3 separate regions of the Homo sapiens genome follow, and regions 2 and 3 are each linked to region 1. Evidence: promoter capture Hi-C in 16 types of primary human blood cells and fetal thymus (Javierre and others, 2016). All regions are on one chromosome and are shown on one strand. Each heading gives the region's core, a stretch centred on a gene start or on the middle of the fragment in contact. The rest is flanking DNA. Distances are from core to core; before and after follow the strand shown. Region 1 holds the start of SCAMP5 (secretory carrier membrane protein 5). Region 2 has its middle 10 kb from the start of C15orf39. Region 3 overlaps LOC124903530 (a long non-coding RNA gene).

The links. The method cuts DNA at HindIII sites, captures the fragments that hold promoters and counts their contacts. A CHiCAGO score of 5 or more calls a contact.
Region 2: a contact is called between a fragment that was not itself captured here and the fragment with the promoter of SCAMP5 in region 1, in 3 of 17 cell types (monocytes, M1 macrophages and fetal thymus). The highest score is 10.1, in monocytes.
Region 3: a contact is called between a fragment that was not itself captured here and the fragment with the promoter of SCAMP5 in region 1, in 1 of 17 cell types (monocytes). The highest score is 5.7, in monocytes.

Annotation. Positions count from the first base shown.
Region 1 is chr15:74,993,420-74,998,239 of GRCh38, reverse strand. SCAMP5 (secretory carrier membrane protein 5) reads right to left here and starts at 2,677. Exons shown (of 7, transcript NM_138967.4): 1 at 2,567-2,677. The HindIII fragment of the contact is 14,301 bases long and covers 1-4,820 here.
Region 2 is chr15:75,189,444-75,194,263 of GRCh38, reverse strand. No RefSeq gene overlaps it. Among named protein-coding and RNA genes, the nearest start is that of C15orf39, 10 kb to the left of the region's middle. RefSeq lists an enhancer at 1,691-2,393. The HindIII fragment of the contact is 1,049 bases long and covers 2,094-3,142 here.
Region 3 is chr15:75,134,668-75,139,487 of GRCh38, reverse strand. It overlaps LOC124903530 (a long non-coding RNA gene), which reads right to left. Exons shown (of 2, transcript XR_007064721.1): 2 at 1-596. Among named protein-coding and RNA genes, the nearest start is that of C15orf39, 65 kb to the left of the region's middle. The HindIII fragment of the contact is 2,215 bases long and covers 1,746-3,960 here.

The sequences.
Region 1 (4,820 bases), core at 1,428-3,927:
TCCCTCCAAAGATGTAGGCCTAGGGAAACACCTTAATTATCAATAAGATAGCAGTTACTACCTGAATTTTGTTCATGAAACCCTAACTATAATGTATTCCATTCCTTATTGTGAAGCTAGGACAGAAGCCCCCACAGTGGGGAGACTGAGGCCTCTGGCAGCAGACGAGGGTCAAGCCTGGCTTCAGATCAGGCCAGAGTCCTGGGGCTAACTCCAGGGCTCCCTGCTCACCAGTATGGGCCCCTCATCCCTGGCACAGAAATGGTGATTCCTTTTTGCTGCCCAGAGCCAACCTGCTAAGATGGAAGTTTCCCCCTCCTGCTCTACCTCCAATCCCCTCATCCCACTCCTAGCCCCATCTTCTGCCCTGAAATCCCAGAACTATGAATAATCCTCAGAAAACAGCAGTCTCCTGGCCATGCTGTCCCTGTCCTACTGATGACTATTCAGTAGCCTCCTACAGATCTTTGCCTGGCATTCAAGGCTTTGTGCCAGTCAGCTACAAACCTCCCTCCCACCACCTTTGGCTGCTCACAGGTTGACCTGCCTCCTACACTCCCAGCCTCATGCAGGAGATCATCTCTAGCCGCCCCCTCTGCTTCCAGTGCCCCTAAATTGGCAGCACTATCAGCTCCTCTAAGTCCTGCTACCTTCTCACATCCCACCCCTTCTGGGAAGCCTTTCCAAAAATCGCTGCTCTGCATCCCGCTGCATACATTTTGAGTCAGTCATTGGGCACTAAGTGTTCACGTCTTCTCCCATAATCTCCTCACTCCCTCCTGGATGGAGTTTCCAGGAGGGACCCAGCACAGAGCACAGTCAATCCATATACTTGCTTAAGACTTGGACACTTTCCCAATGGGTGGGAGGGAGGCAATTAACGCCCTCCCCCAATCAGATTAAGCCCAAAGCTGCTGTCAAACCTGCTGTATCACACTTCCTCCAGGAAACCTTCCGAAACTCCTGGCTGGCAGCAGGGAAGGAAGTGCAGCCTGTAAAGGAAATGCTGTGGGGGGCAAGGGGTGGGGATAGGGACAGGGAGGCAGAGGGATAGGGGAGGAAAGGAAAAGGAAGAGGGAGAAGAAAGGGGGGATGCTCTAAACTAGAACAAGGAGCATCCTCAAGGGAGGTCACTACTTAGTCCTATTATTTCATCTCTAGAGAAAGGTGCTAGAAAGAGATGCCCAGAGAGGGGAGGTGACTTGGGGAACTTGCTTGGAGGTGGCCACTCAGGAAACGGTTAAAGAAACAGCCACAGAGCCCAAGGTCTCTCTCTAGAACTCCCCTCCTGGGACCCCACTAACTCTCCAAGGGGTTTGCTAAACCTAAGACCCTCTTTCAGGGGCCCATTCACCAGAGACAGCCCCCTCTCAGCTCTAGAGACTTTGCCCTAAGGCTCACCAAGCCCAGAACAAACCTAAGTTAGCAAGACCTGTGTAGCCCCAAACAAAATCTCTCTGCCAATCATGCCCCTGCAAGAACCATCTCCCTCTTTCAGAGCCCTGCTCCGTGAGGCAGAACATGTAGGGGACAGGTTGCAAATTTCTCCAGACTCCACCACCCCATGGGCAGTCACATGGCTGAGCTCCCAGGCTCAGCCCCCAACAGCTGTGCTCGTTTTCATCCCTGTGCCTTTGCCCATACATTCTCCTGGAATGCCCTCTCTTGCCTCTCCTCCCACCCAAATCCCATCACCTCTGGAAGTCTCCTATTCGCTAGCTGTCGCCTCCCTTTCTCTCTGTGTCCCTGGGAAAGTCTGCCAGGCCCTCACTGATCTCCCCATCGGGAAGCTGGGACATTACTTGTTTAAGCCGCCTGTGACAGTGAATGCTCAGTCCGAGTCTCTACTTGGTTCCCCCAACCCACAGACCAGGAGCTCCCCGAGGCGGAGGACAAGGATCGGTTCACAAACACCTCACCTCCATCCTCGTGACCTCCGGCCAGCGTTGAAATGAGCCAAATCCGGCGCCCCCAACTCACCACCCAAAGCCCTGATGGAGCCCGCCTGGTGGCCTGGGCCAGCGCGCCCGTCGCCTCGCAACCCTGGGGCGGCTGAGGTCCGCCATCCAAAGGTCGGCCGCCCGAGGGAGGTGAGGGAAGTCAACCCGGGTCCACCTGCAGGCGCTAGTTGGAAGGAAAGGCCCAAAGGAAGCCACGGGCACCCCCTTCCAGTCGCCCCCATCCCCGGCTGCGCACGCCATCTCCAGAAGGCCGGTTTCCAGGGAACGCCAGGTGGGGCTGGCGGGGGGGATGGAGGGCCCAAAGCTCAGGCTCCAGATCCAGGGTCTGACGTCACCCAAAGGCCCAGTTCCCTCTGCGGGAGCCACAGATGGGAATGGGGGGGCTTGGGGGGCTCGGGGGGCCTGGGTGCGCCCTGAGCGCTCTCCCCCAGCCCCAAACAGTAAAGGTCACCTCCACTCCCACCTCTCCAGCAGTTCGGCCTTCTTCCTGCATCCAAAGGTGAAGTGTAGGAGGAACAAAGCTGCAGCCAGCGACCCCCACACCTCTCGCCCCGCGCCCAGCTTCCCTTCAAAGCTCTCCTCCCAGCCTTCATGCCCAGACTCACCTGCCGCGGCCGTTCGGCTGCCGAAAGGCCGCAGCGCTGCGCTGAGCTGCGCTGCACCCGAGCGATGCGGCGCGGAGCCGGCCGCGAGCCGCTCCGGGGCTGGGGGCGGGGAGCGCGCGCGCGCGCGCGCGCGCCCGAGGCCGTCTCTGCGCGCGCCCGCGCCGCCACTGCCTGCAGCAGTCACTCTCGCGAGACTTCCGCTCTGCTCCTAAGGCTGCTCCTCCTGAGCTCGCGAGAAGGACGACCCGGCCGCCCCGGCATCTTCCAGGAGCTGTCCGAGGTGCTAGTTCCCGGGCCCCGGCCGGATCAGGTGGTTGACGGGCACCTCAGGGACAAGAGCCTGGCGTGTAGGTGGAAGGAAGAGACCCAGAGATGGGAGCCTGGCACCAGCAGCCAGAGCCTCAGCTTCCATATCTGTAAACTGGGGAGAATAACCTCCTATACCTATGCCAGGAGCCTCTGGGACGTGCCAGAAAGGAGTGAGAAAGAGCTGAAAGCAGGAGAGTGTGGTGACTGCGGAAGGTCCTTCAGATCTGCAGGCGCAGGGGGAAAGAGAGAACAGAGGACGGAAGATCGGAGATGATATTCAGAGAGGCAAGGACACAGATCCACGGAAAGACGACATAGGAGGACGAGAAAGAAGAGCTGCAAACAGAGACAGAGACACACGGAGAGAGAGACTGAGATGAGAGCTCAAGGCCTGGAGAGAAAAAAGACATGGAAAGATAAGATAGGTAAGGGAGCATAATGAAGCAAGAAAGAGGCAAGAAATAGAGACAAATTACGCAAAGGAGCAGAGAGAGAGAGAGAGAGAGAGGAGAGGCTTAGAAAAAGAAAGAGACTCAGAAAAAGGAATGAAAGAGACAGTGATATGCAGAGATGAATACCAAGAGAGAGTAGAGGCAAGGGTAAATGTTTAAAAACCCAGAGCTTTGGAGGGTTGAGAGAGACCCACTTGGAGAGATGGGCTGGGAGTGAAGACAGGATTTTATTGTGATTGGTGTTTACATAGTAAACCTCCGTGGGATCTCTACAGGCAGGGCCAGGGCCACTGTCTGTCCTGCCAGCCAATTGCTCCTTCCCCTACACCATACACCCACCCTCCACCCCCCACCCACACCATCCTAGGCCTGGAAGGGGGCCTCAGTGGGTGGGAGACACTGCAGGGATTCTTTGCCTAGAATAAGGGCCCATTGTCTGGCTCCATCCTGCCAGGAGTGGGGCCTCACTCCCACAGCTGGCATGAAAAGGGGGTGGCAGTGAAAAAAGGCAGACAAGAACTAGTGTGGCAGAGGGGAAAAGGAGGGAGAGAGCCTCGGTGCCTGGGAAGGGCTGAGCAGGAAGCATCATCCTGCCACCAGGCCAACCAGGAAGGAAGGGTCCTGGGCTTCGGGGCAGGACAACTGGGTTCTGTGTCAGTCCTGTCCCTGGTTGACCCACATGCTGTCTCTCCCTGCTATAATGCAAGCCAAGGCTGATTTACAGAGCTGTGGAGAGCAGCCAATGAGATGACAACTGGGAACCTGTCGAAGTTATCAAGTGTGGCTGCTACAGGGAAAATGTTGGGAGTCCATGTGGGCCTCAGGAAAGATATAGGGGTTCACATAGGCCTTTAGGAGAGAGATCTGAGGTCCACACTGGGATCCACAAGGAAGATGTCTGGAAACCACATGGAATTTATAGGAGATATCTTGTGGTTCATGTAGGTCCTACAAGGGAAATATTGGGGTTCCCGTCTGATGACCACGGACAATTTTTCTCCACTCAGAAGAATCAGAAGGGTCTCCTATTTGATAAACAACTAACGTAGGAAGAGTGAGCAGGTCCAAAGTCAGAAGCCCACCTTTGTCCCAGTAGATTGTACCTTTCCTATTCAGGTAAATGGAAGGGAACAATGATCACTTAAACAAACGTTTACTTAATAGGCATTTGCTGGTTACCTACCATGAGAAGAAGCATACAGCAGTGGTTAAGAATATCAACCTAGAAGGCAGACCTTGCCCCTTCCCTGCAGTGTGAATTTGAGAAGGTACTAATCCTCACTGAACCTTAGTTTTCCACATATGTAAAATAAGGATGGTGATAATGGGACCCGTGTCTTAGGGTTCCTGCAAGGATGAAATGAATTAATACATGCAGACACATGTAACATATGGGACTGCCTGGTACACAGTAAGTATTTAATGATCTGTAAATAGATGGATAAAACAATTTTTAAAAATTAAAAATAAAGTATTTAAGCCAGGCACGGTGG
Region 2 (4,820 bases), core at 1,369-3,868, 200 kb before region 1:
TCTCTCTGCTCTGCCAGGGCAGCTTCTGCTGCGCAGCTGGGTTGAACGCCAGTCCTGCCTTCTGCCTCCTGCCACAAGGCCAGCCTGGGATGGTAGAGCTATGGGCAGGTCAGAGTTTCAGGGAGAGCAGTGATGGCTAATTAAAACTTCAGCTCAGGGAGGCCCCCTTGGGGCATGGATTGCCTCAGTCAGCTTCCCTGGGGGAGTCCCCTAATTGGACCCCTGGGCCCTAGGAGTGATGCAAACTCACCAGGCAGATGATGGCAGGCAGGGAGGGAGGGGAAAGGGGGAAGGAAGCAGGCTGGCCAAAAAATAACAACAACCCCCTTCCCATTGTGAGAGATGGTGACTTTGGAGTCCCCAAACTGTCACTTAGGAACTGTGTGACTTTGAATCAGTTGCTTGGCCTCTCTGAGCCTCAGTTTCCTCATTGAGAAGTGGGGATAGGAAAACTTCCAGCCCTGGAGGGTTGCTATGAGACCTGTGCAGAAAGTACACAGCACCATGCCTGGCTCAGAAATAGGCACTCATACAATTGGAGCAATTGTCACAGTTACTGCCACGGTCCTCTCTTATCCATCATTTCATTCAGTTCTCAGAGCATTCTGGGAGAGAGGAGGACAAGCCTTCAGAGCAGGCAGGGGGTTAGCCTCCCAGCTTTCATAACCAACAGTCTGGGTCCTGGGCCGTGTGTGGAGTGTGGAGGGGCGGGGGCAGGGGATGCTGCAGAAGATCAGGCAGGAGGTCACTGCTCAGCTGCTATGCAGATGAACCCGGAGCCTGCCTGTGGAGTGGAGAGGACTTGACTAGGCAGAAAGCAGCCCAGGGGGCAGAGCTGGAGGCAGCCAAAGGTCTGAAGACCAGAGAAAGTGCAGAGTGTGCCAGGAGCCCTGGGGAGCCAATGGGGCTAGAGATGGGTGAGTGACAGCCACATGCTACCCTGCTGAGAGTTGGGGTCTGGCCCAATGTGGCCAAAGTCTTCCCTGGGTCCAGGGTGCTGAGAATGACTTGTGCCAGAAGGGTGGGCTGTGAAGAAGGGAGTCTCGGAGAGGGGAGAGGGTGCTAGGCTTTTCCTTTCTGGATGCAGCAAGGTAGACTCCTTAGCTCCCCTGCCCCTTAGGGAGCAGACAGTGTCATCTCCAATTTGTGAGGCCTCTAGAGTCACTGGCCCCTTACCAGCTATTCACAGAGGGGCAGGAGCAGGCCAAGGTCCAAAAGAGCCAGGTGTGGGGTGAGTCCCAGAACCCTCCAAGGTGACCCGGCTCAGTGGTGTCACTCTGTTCTCACAGCCCATCTCCAAGACCACCCAGTGCCACGTCTGCTGGCTGCAGCAGGCCTGGAATCCTCAGGACAGGCCGTGGGCCTCCCTCCGGCTCGAGTCACTCCCCAGAGCAGAACATTCTGCCCCCAAATTCTTGATGAACCCCTCCCAACAAGCAGTGGCTTCAGAACACCAATCTTTTCCCAGAGAGAAACCCAGGACCAGGAGAGATATGGAGGAGACCAGAACGCATTTCAAAGAGCTGATCTTGCTAATAAATCAACAATTCCTGAACAAACACAGCCCACCCTGCACCAGCTCTGGGCTCCCTCAACCTCCCTCCAGACCCTATTCCACAGCCCCCTCTGCTCCAGCAGTCCCCACCTCCTGTCAACCAGGTCATCTATGGCTCAGGTTCCAATTAGTTCAGTAATTAGCACCTCATTGGGCCTGTCTGCCTGCGAACAGCTCCCCTGGGGAGGGTTTCAGGAGGTCTCCATGACCTCAGGGCCCAGAGCTCAGGCAAGTCCAGGCTGGCAAGGCCCCAGGTGGCCTCCCTGCACCCCAGCATAGGGCAGGGGAACAAAAGAATCCCCCAGGGAATTGGGTAAGGGGCAGGGAGAAGAGGGTCCACACCCAGAACGAGCCTTCTCCAGCACTTCCGGGGCCCGTGTGTCAGCTCCACACACACCTTCCTCAGCCATCTCTGTCTAGTCAGTGTGCCCTGGCTGGCTGGGGAAGCCAGGAGGATGCCAAATCCAGCTGAGGTCAGGTCAGTAAGGGAAAGTCTCCATGGGTGGCTTTGGCACAGCCAGGGATTTAGAAAGAAGCTTGGCTTATCCCTTCAGGCCTCCATCCGGGGCCTCCTGGCTCTCTCGGGCGTCACCCCCTGATGACCCCTCAGTCCCTGGCATCCATCTTTCACCTGACAGTCCCTCAGCTCTTGAAGAGAGTAGAATGCCCCCCAGCCCAGCCCATGGTCAGGCTGCAAGTGGCCGAACTATGGGCTCTGGCTAGAAAGGCTGCCAGAGCTGAGAGCGGGGAGTAGGGGACAGCCTGTGTGGTGGGGTCAGAGCGAGCCTCCAGCCAAGAAAGGAAAGGAGAGGTGAGGTGCTGCCAGTGGACGTGTGGGCACCGTGTCACAGTGGAGTGGCTCAGGAGTAAGGGGAGGTCAAGGCTTCCTCTTGCTGAGCTCAGATTCCCCATCTTTAACATTGGAACAAGAATGGTCATAGCCCCCAGCTTCCGGAGATGATGGCAAGAGGTGGGTAGTGTGGTGAGCAACGGAGCAACGTGGTGGGAAGCCAGCAGCAGTGGCACAGGGCAGAAGGTGAGCATTCCAGGGAAGCCCCCTGTTGTCTCCCTCCCTGACATAGAGCAGCACTGGCCAGGGAGAGGGGTCTTGATGGGGGGTGGGAGTCCACACTGTATAACTCGGGCTTGGTGAAGGGAACACAGGTCAGGCCCAGGGAACCAGTGTGAACAGTGCAGGTGAGAGGTGCAGGTTACCCAGACAGGCCAGAAGTCAGCCTTGACCTCAGCCCCCAGACTGAGAGGTGTCCTTGGGCTGACCCTGAGCCGAGGCCAGTCATGAGATTAGAACCCCAGCAGCAGGAGCCAGGCAAATGCCCTGCAGCTGTGGAGGAGGCTTGGCTGCAGCAGCATTTGACCCCAGAATGGGCCTCCAGCTCCTTCCAGAAAAGTCCCACTGCTGGGAAACTGCTGCATCACTCTCCTGGTGCTGACACCCCCTGTTAGTGTCTCCTTGCTTGGATTAGTATTGCCTTCTTAGGGATACTCTGGTGACAAAACCAGCACCAGCCACCTTATCCAGGCCCAGATCCCAACTTGCACTCTTGGCTGTGGGACTTGAAGCAAGCTTCTTAACCTCTCTGAGCTCCAGGGTCTTTGACTGTGGGATGATGAATTGTGCCCCCAGGTTTGTGGTAGGGTCAGGTGCCCAGTGTTCTAATGCCACTGGATCAGTCCCGGCAGGCAGTGAGCCTCAGTGAACCCGTGTTCCTCCTTCCTCAGGCCAATTCCTAGGAAGCAGGCAGGACTCTGAGAAGATGTGGTGCTGAGACCAGCTTGGTCGTGGAGACCCTAACCCAGCAGCGCTAGAGGAATTAAAGACTCACACACAAAAATATAGAGTGCAGAGTGGGAAATCAGGGGACTCACAGCCTTCAGAGCTGAGAGCCATGAACAGAGATTTACCCACATATTTATTGACAGCAAGCGAGTGATAAGCATTGTTTCTATAGATTATAGATTAACTAAAAGTATCCTATATGGGAAACAAAGGGATGGGCCGTAATAAAGGGATGGGTCTAGCTAGTTATCTGCAGCAGGAGCATGTCCTTAAGGCACAGATCGCTCATGCTATTGTTTGTGGTTCAGTAATGCCTTAAGCGGTTTTCCGCTCTGGGTGGGCCAGGTATTCCTTGCCCTCATTCCGGTAAAACAATAACCTTCAACATGGGCATCGTGGCCGTCACGAGCATGTCACAGTGCTGCAGATATTTTGTTTATGGCCAGTTTTGGGGCCTGTTTATGGCCAGATTTGGGGGCCTGTTCCCAACAACGTGGGGCTGAAGTCTGCTTTCCCTTCTCTAGGAAGAAGTTCTGTGAAGGCCAGAGAGCCAAAACCACCTCCTCAGTCTGCCATTTTTCCACAGGCTTGTGAAAGGAACTGGATCATCTGTTTAGGGCTTCTAAAAGTTATTAGGGGCCAGGTGCAGTGGCTCACACCTGTAATCCTAGCACTTTGGGAGACCAAACCTAGAGGATTGCTCAGGCCCAGGAGTTTGAGACCAGCCTGGGTAACATAATGAGACCTTCTCTATACCAAAAAAAGAAAGAAAGAAAAAAAAGCCAGGCGTGATGATGCACACCTGTAGTTCCAGCTACTCAGGAGGCTGAGGTGGGAGGATTGCTTAAGCCCAGCCCAGGAGGTCGGGGTTTCAGTGAGCCGTGATTGCGCCACTGCACCCCAGCCTGGGAGACAGAGCAAGACCCTGTCTCAAAAACAAAAACAAAACAACAAGAACAAAAATAACAGTTACTAGGCTCTGAGGAAGGTTGCCTTTGGAGACTGAGTCACAGAACTTGACCTCTTAATTACTGAACTTTTGTTATAAATTAATTTCCTTCCTTGTTCCTGGCTTAGACCAGATGGCCCTAAGATAGAAGACCCCTTGACTGAGATGAAAGACCCCTTAACTATTACATCCTTATGTGGAATGTCAAATATACTTTTCCCGAAAAAGAAACACTGCCTTTAACCAATCAATTGCTGTAACTATGTATGAAAAATGATGTAATCCTGTTTACATCCTTGCCTATATAAATGATCCTCAAATCTCTCCACTTCAGAGCACCTTGGACCCCATTTTTTTGGAGACTGTGCCTTCCTCAAACTTTGCACTCCAATAAACTCAGTATTTAATCATATTGCCTGAATCTCATCATTCAGGTTGACAGGCTCAATGCAGAGTGGGCAGGGGATAAACAGTCATTCCAGTAAAGCCCTCTGCTTTCAGGCCTCCCACCCCCATCC
Region 3 (4,820 bases), core at 1,604-4,103, 140 kb before region 1:
AGCCCAATGGAACAGGACTGGGTGAGGATCAAGCGATGACGGATAGTGCTGGGTGCAGTAGCTTATGTCTGTAGTCCCAGCTACTTGGGAGGCTGAGGTGGGAGGATCACCTGAGGTCAGGAGTTTGGGTCTGCCGTGAGCTGTGATTGCGCCTGTGAATAGTCACTGCACTCCAGCATGGGCAACAGAAGGAGATCCTCTTTCTCAAGCAAACAAACAAGAGATGAAAGATATGAAGTGCTCAGCTAGTACTGCCCTTAGCTGTGGCATGGGGCCCTTGTCTAAGCCATATGCTTTAGAGAACCTCACTGTGGTCCTCTTCTGCTCCTCGGCCCATTGGGACTAAGGCTTGAACCCATGTGGAGCCCACGACCTTCTTCTAGACCCCAAGCCCACTTTCCAGAGCTCAGCTGGCCTCCAACCCACGTTGCTTCCCAGGACATGAACAGGCAGCAGGATATGAACTTCTAGGCCCAAAGGATGGCCAATGGGGGCTGTTTGTGCAAAGGGACATGGGGAGGGTATAGAAGTTTGTACAGGCATTCTGCAGCTCCCACACACGCGAACCCGAGGCTGCTCCTGGTGCAGGATGGAGCCTGTGATCAAATACATTCCAGTTACAGTTATGTAACAAAACACCCCAAGGCTTAGTGGCATGAAACAGCAACAATCATTATATTATTATGCCTCAGGGACTGAGGCACGCCAGGGATGCCTTGCCTAAGCCTCCTTCCCTGTGTCCCCCTTCCAGGAGGGGAAACCGGGGGTGGGAGAGAGGGCAGATTGGAGCCATGTGGCCAGATGGTTCTGCAGGAGGCATTTTCGGTTTCCGTGGGGATGCTAGGAACGCCAGTCCGGAAGGAGGGAAAGGTGCCTTCAGCATAACAAGACCCTCCACAGGGAAGGGGGCAAGGTCATGAGAATGGAGGAAAGCGAGGGCCTCAAGCTAAAGGACACACCCCCCTCTGGGACCTTTGGAAGAAAGAAGTCCTCCCAGAGGGAAGGAGAGTTTGCCCTCAGGTCCTTAAAAGGAGAAAAGGCAAAGCAGTCTGGCTGGTAGAGAAGCCACTGGCTGGGAGGAAGAACGCATCATTGTCTCCAACCTCAGGCCAGACGCATCCCACCAGGGGAATCCCAGACACCCAGGAGGCCTCCCAGGGGCTGGACTGGGCTTTAGTTTCTGAAGGGATTGATAGCCAGTCCTGGCAGGGGGAGTTGCAGAGACAGCAACTCAGGAAGGTTAGAGAGAGGGCTGGGCATCAGCGGGGAGTGGGGAGAAGAAGTGGGTCAAGGAAGGAGGGCGTCTCCGCATAGGCACCCCAGAAGGTCCTGGCTGTGAGAGAGAGCCCCCTTCTCCGAGAGGAGTTAGTTCTCCAAAGGCATAGCCTAATCCGCCATATCCATCCAAGCGCGCAGTTTGCTTCTGTTCTCAGGCTCTGGGCAGCTTTGGGACGGAAAGGGTTCCTTTCAGTGGGCTGTGCTGCCTGGAGGCAGCCAGGACCAGGTCTGGGCAGGTCTGGTAGGTGGCAAGGTAAGTGAAGAGGGGCCACTTTGCTCAGCGAGCTGAATAGCAAAGGCCTACACGGGATTGCCAGATTTACCAAACAACAATACAGGACTCCATTACATTTGAATTTCAGATAAACATTGAATTTTTTTTTAGGATGAGGAGGTTCTATGCAGTATTTGGGATATACTTATACTAAAAGAGTATTTGTTATCTTAAATCTAATTTTAACTAAGCTTTCTATATTTTATCTGGCAGCCCTAGGCCTGCCCCACTAGGGTCCCCAGTTGCCCCTCACAAGGACCATCCCCAGACACCCTTGCCCTAAAGCATAGAGACCCAGGACCTTGGCAACAGAAGGAAGTGGCCTTTTTTGGTGCATTCTAGAATTCCTGGCAGGCCTCCCCTCTCCCCAGCACCTGCCTCCATTCCTTCCGCACACATTTTTAGGTCTGGCACCAGAGATCCTATGGCAGAGTAAGCCCTGGGAGGATGCTAGGTGAGTTGCAGTGCATCCCACCTTACTTGTGTATCTGCAGCCCTTCACTAATCATGGCTGCAATGGCCTTTTCTTGGAGGAGTCAGAGAGATTGACTGTGGTACTTGGGCTTAAAGAATGCTTGGGAGAAAATGGAGATGGACGCAGGGACAGAAACGCATGCAAATACGTTCTGGGAATCCCAGTAACTTCTGTGGCTTGACCTGTGTTTGGATAAAGAGCGAGGACATGCCAGTGGCAAAGAGGCAAAGGCCAGTCACTTAAGGCTTTGGATCTTAGGCCAAGGCATCTGTACTTTACACTCAGCAGTAGAGAGCCATGGAAGAGGTGCTTTAAAATTGTTTATTTGGGTGTGGTGGCTCACACCTGTAATCTGAACACTTTGGGAGGCCAGGTGGGAGGATTACTTGAGCCCAGGAATTTCTGATCAGCCTGGGCAACATGGTGAAACCCCAACTCTACAAAAAATACAAAAATTAGCTGGGCATGGTGGCATGCACCAGTAGCCCCAGCTACTCAGGAGGCTGAGGCAGGAGGATCAATGGAGCCCGGGAGGTCAAGGCTGCAGTGAGTTATGATTATGCCAGTGCACACCAGTCTGGGTAACAGAGCAAGATCCTGTCTGAAAAAATTATTTATTTGTTGGTTAAAGTAAGTAAACAAGTAATACAATACGGAACAGCAGTGTTGTCAAAGTATGGCCTATGGACCCTGGAGGTCCCCAAGATACTTAGAGATCTGCAAGGTCAAAACTATGTTTATAGTAATACTCAGACATTCTATGCCCTTTTCATTCAAATGATGTGTTATCATTTGACTGACTGCTTGAGAGCAATGGCGAGTGAACGTGTCATTGCTTCAACACAAGTTAAGGCAGTAGTGCCTGAGAGGATCAAAATATGCCACTCCAAAATAAGCCACTTTGGCAGAAGAACTATTTTGAGTGGAATGCAACTGGGAATCAACAGTTGCAGGATGAGTTCTCTGCTTTCCTCTTAGCTGCAAAAAACAGGGCATAAATTTCCCTTTGTGAATACCAAGATGATTTTGCATAAACAGACCTTACTAAAATAACCTCTATCGTCCATTCGTTCCCCCATATATTTCCTAGCCACTTCCCCACAATTTGTCACCCTTGATGCCCAAACCCTCTTTCCTTTGTTAAAATGTTGTGTAAGTCCCCATGTCTAATGACTTCTTTGAGTTTCAGTTCTTTTCTGTGAACTCTCATGCAGGTAAATATTCATAAAAGTTGTGTGCCTTTTCTCCTGTTATTCTGTCCTTTGTCAGTTTAATTCACAGACCTCTAATCAATGAACCTGAGTGCAGACAAAACGTTTTTCCTCCCTGACACTGCAGCCTTGACATCCTGGGCTCAAGCGATCCTCCCACTTCAGCCTCCAATTAGCTGGAACTACAGGCACGTACCACCACATCGGCTATTTTTTTATTTTTTGTAGAGACGGTGTCTCAGTATGTTGCCCAGGCTAGCATTGTATTCTTCATTGCCATGTATTTGCAATTTAAAAACATTTCATTTATGAATGACCTTGATGGAACAGTAAAAAATACTTTTATTAACTCTCAATCTGTGAGCAGTATATATCTTTCTATGCTTGATATTTTGTGTGATGAAAGGAGGAGTATGTAGAAAGCACTTCTGCTGCTTACCAAAGGATGATGGGCTTCTCTAAGGAAAAGCGCTTGTGTGATTGTCTGAGTTGTCAGCCAAACTAGCTGCTTTTTTCATAGAACACCATTTTTACTTGAAAGACTGACAAACTATGGTTATTCCGACTGGTATTTAGCAGACATTTCTTAACAATAAATAAAGTGAAACTGTCACTCCATAAAAGCAACTGACAGCATTTGTTGCCAATGATAAAATTTGAGCTTTCAAGCAAAAGTTAGAATTTTGGAAAATGTGTATCCACCATTGTGAGCTTAACAAGCTTCTAAGTACTTAAACACTTTTTTTTTCCTTTCTTTTCTTTTTTTTTTTTTTGTGTGAGATGGAGTCTTGCTCTGTCACCCAGGCTGGAGTGCAATGACATAATCTCAGCTCACTGTAACCTCTGCCTCCTGGGTTCAAGCAATTCTCCTGCCTCAGCCTCCTGAGTAACTGGAATTACAGGCACACGCCACCACACCTGGCTAATTTTTGTATTTTTAGTAAAGATGGGGTTTCACCATGTTGGCCAGGCTGGTCTTGAACTCCTGACCTCAGGTGATGTACCCACCTCGGCCTCCCAAAGTGCTGGGATTACAGGCATGAGTCACCGTGCCCAGCCTTACTTAAACAATTTTCTTATGAGATTAGTAGTGATATTAACACACATGATTTTTCAATATTGTCTAACAAAATGTGTCAAAAATTGGATGATCTGCATAACTCTATCAGTACTTTCCAAATGACAAATGCATAATGTTACAGAACTACACTCACATAAAAGATTCACTTAAGGTACAAGACAGGGCTGAGTATAGTGGCTCATGCCTGTAATCCCAACACTTTGGCAGGTAGAGGTGGGAGGATCACTAGAGGCGAAGAGCTGGAGACCGGCCTGGGCAACATAGCAAGACCCCATCTTTATTTTAAAAAATAAAAAATTAGCCAGGTGTGGTGGCACACACCTATAGTTCCAGCTACTAAGGAGGCTGAGACAGGAGGATTGCTTGAGCTCAGGAGTCTGAGGTTGCAATGAGCTATGATCAAGCCACTGTACCCTAGCCTGGGTGACAGAGTGAAACCCTGTCTTAAAAAAAAAAGTGGGGGGACAAGAGAGAGCAATGGCTTTTGTTTTGTTTTGTTGT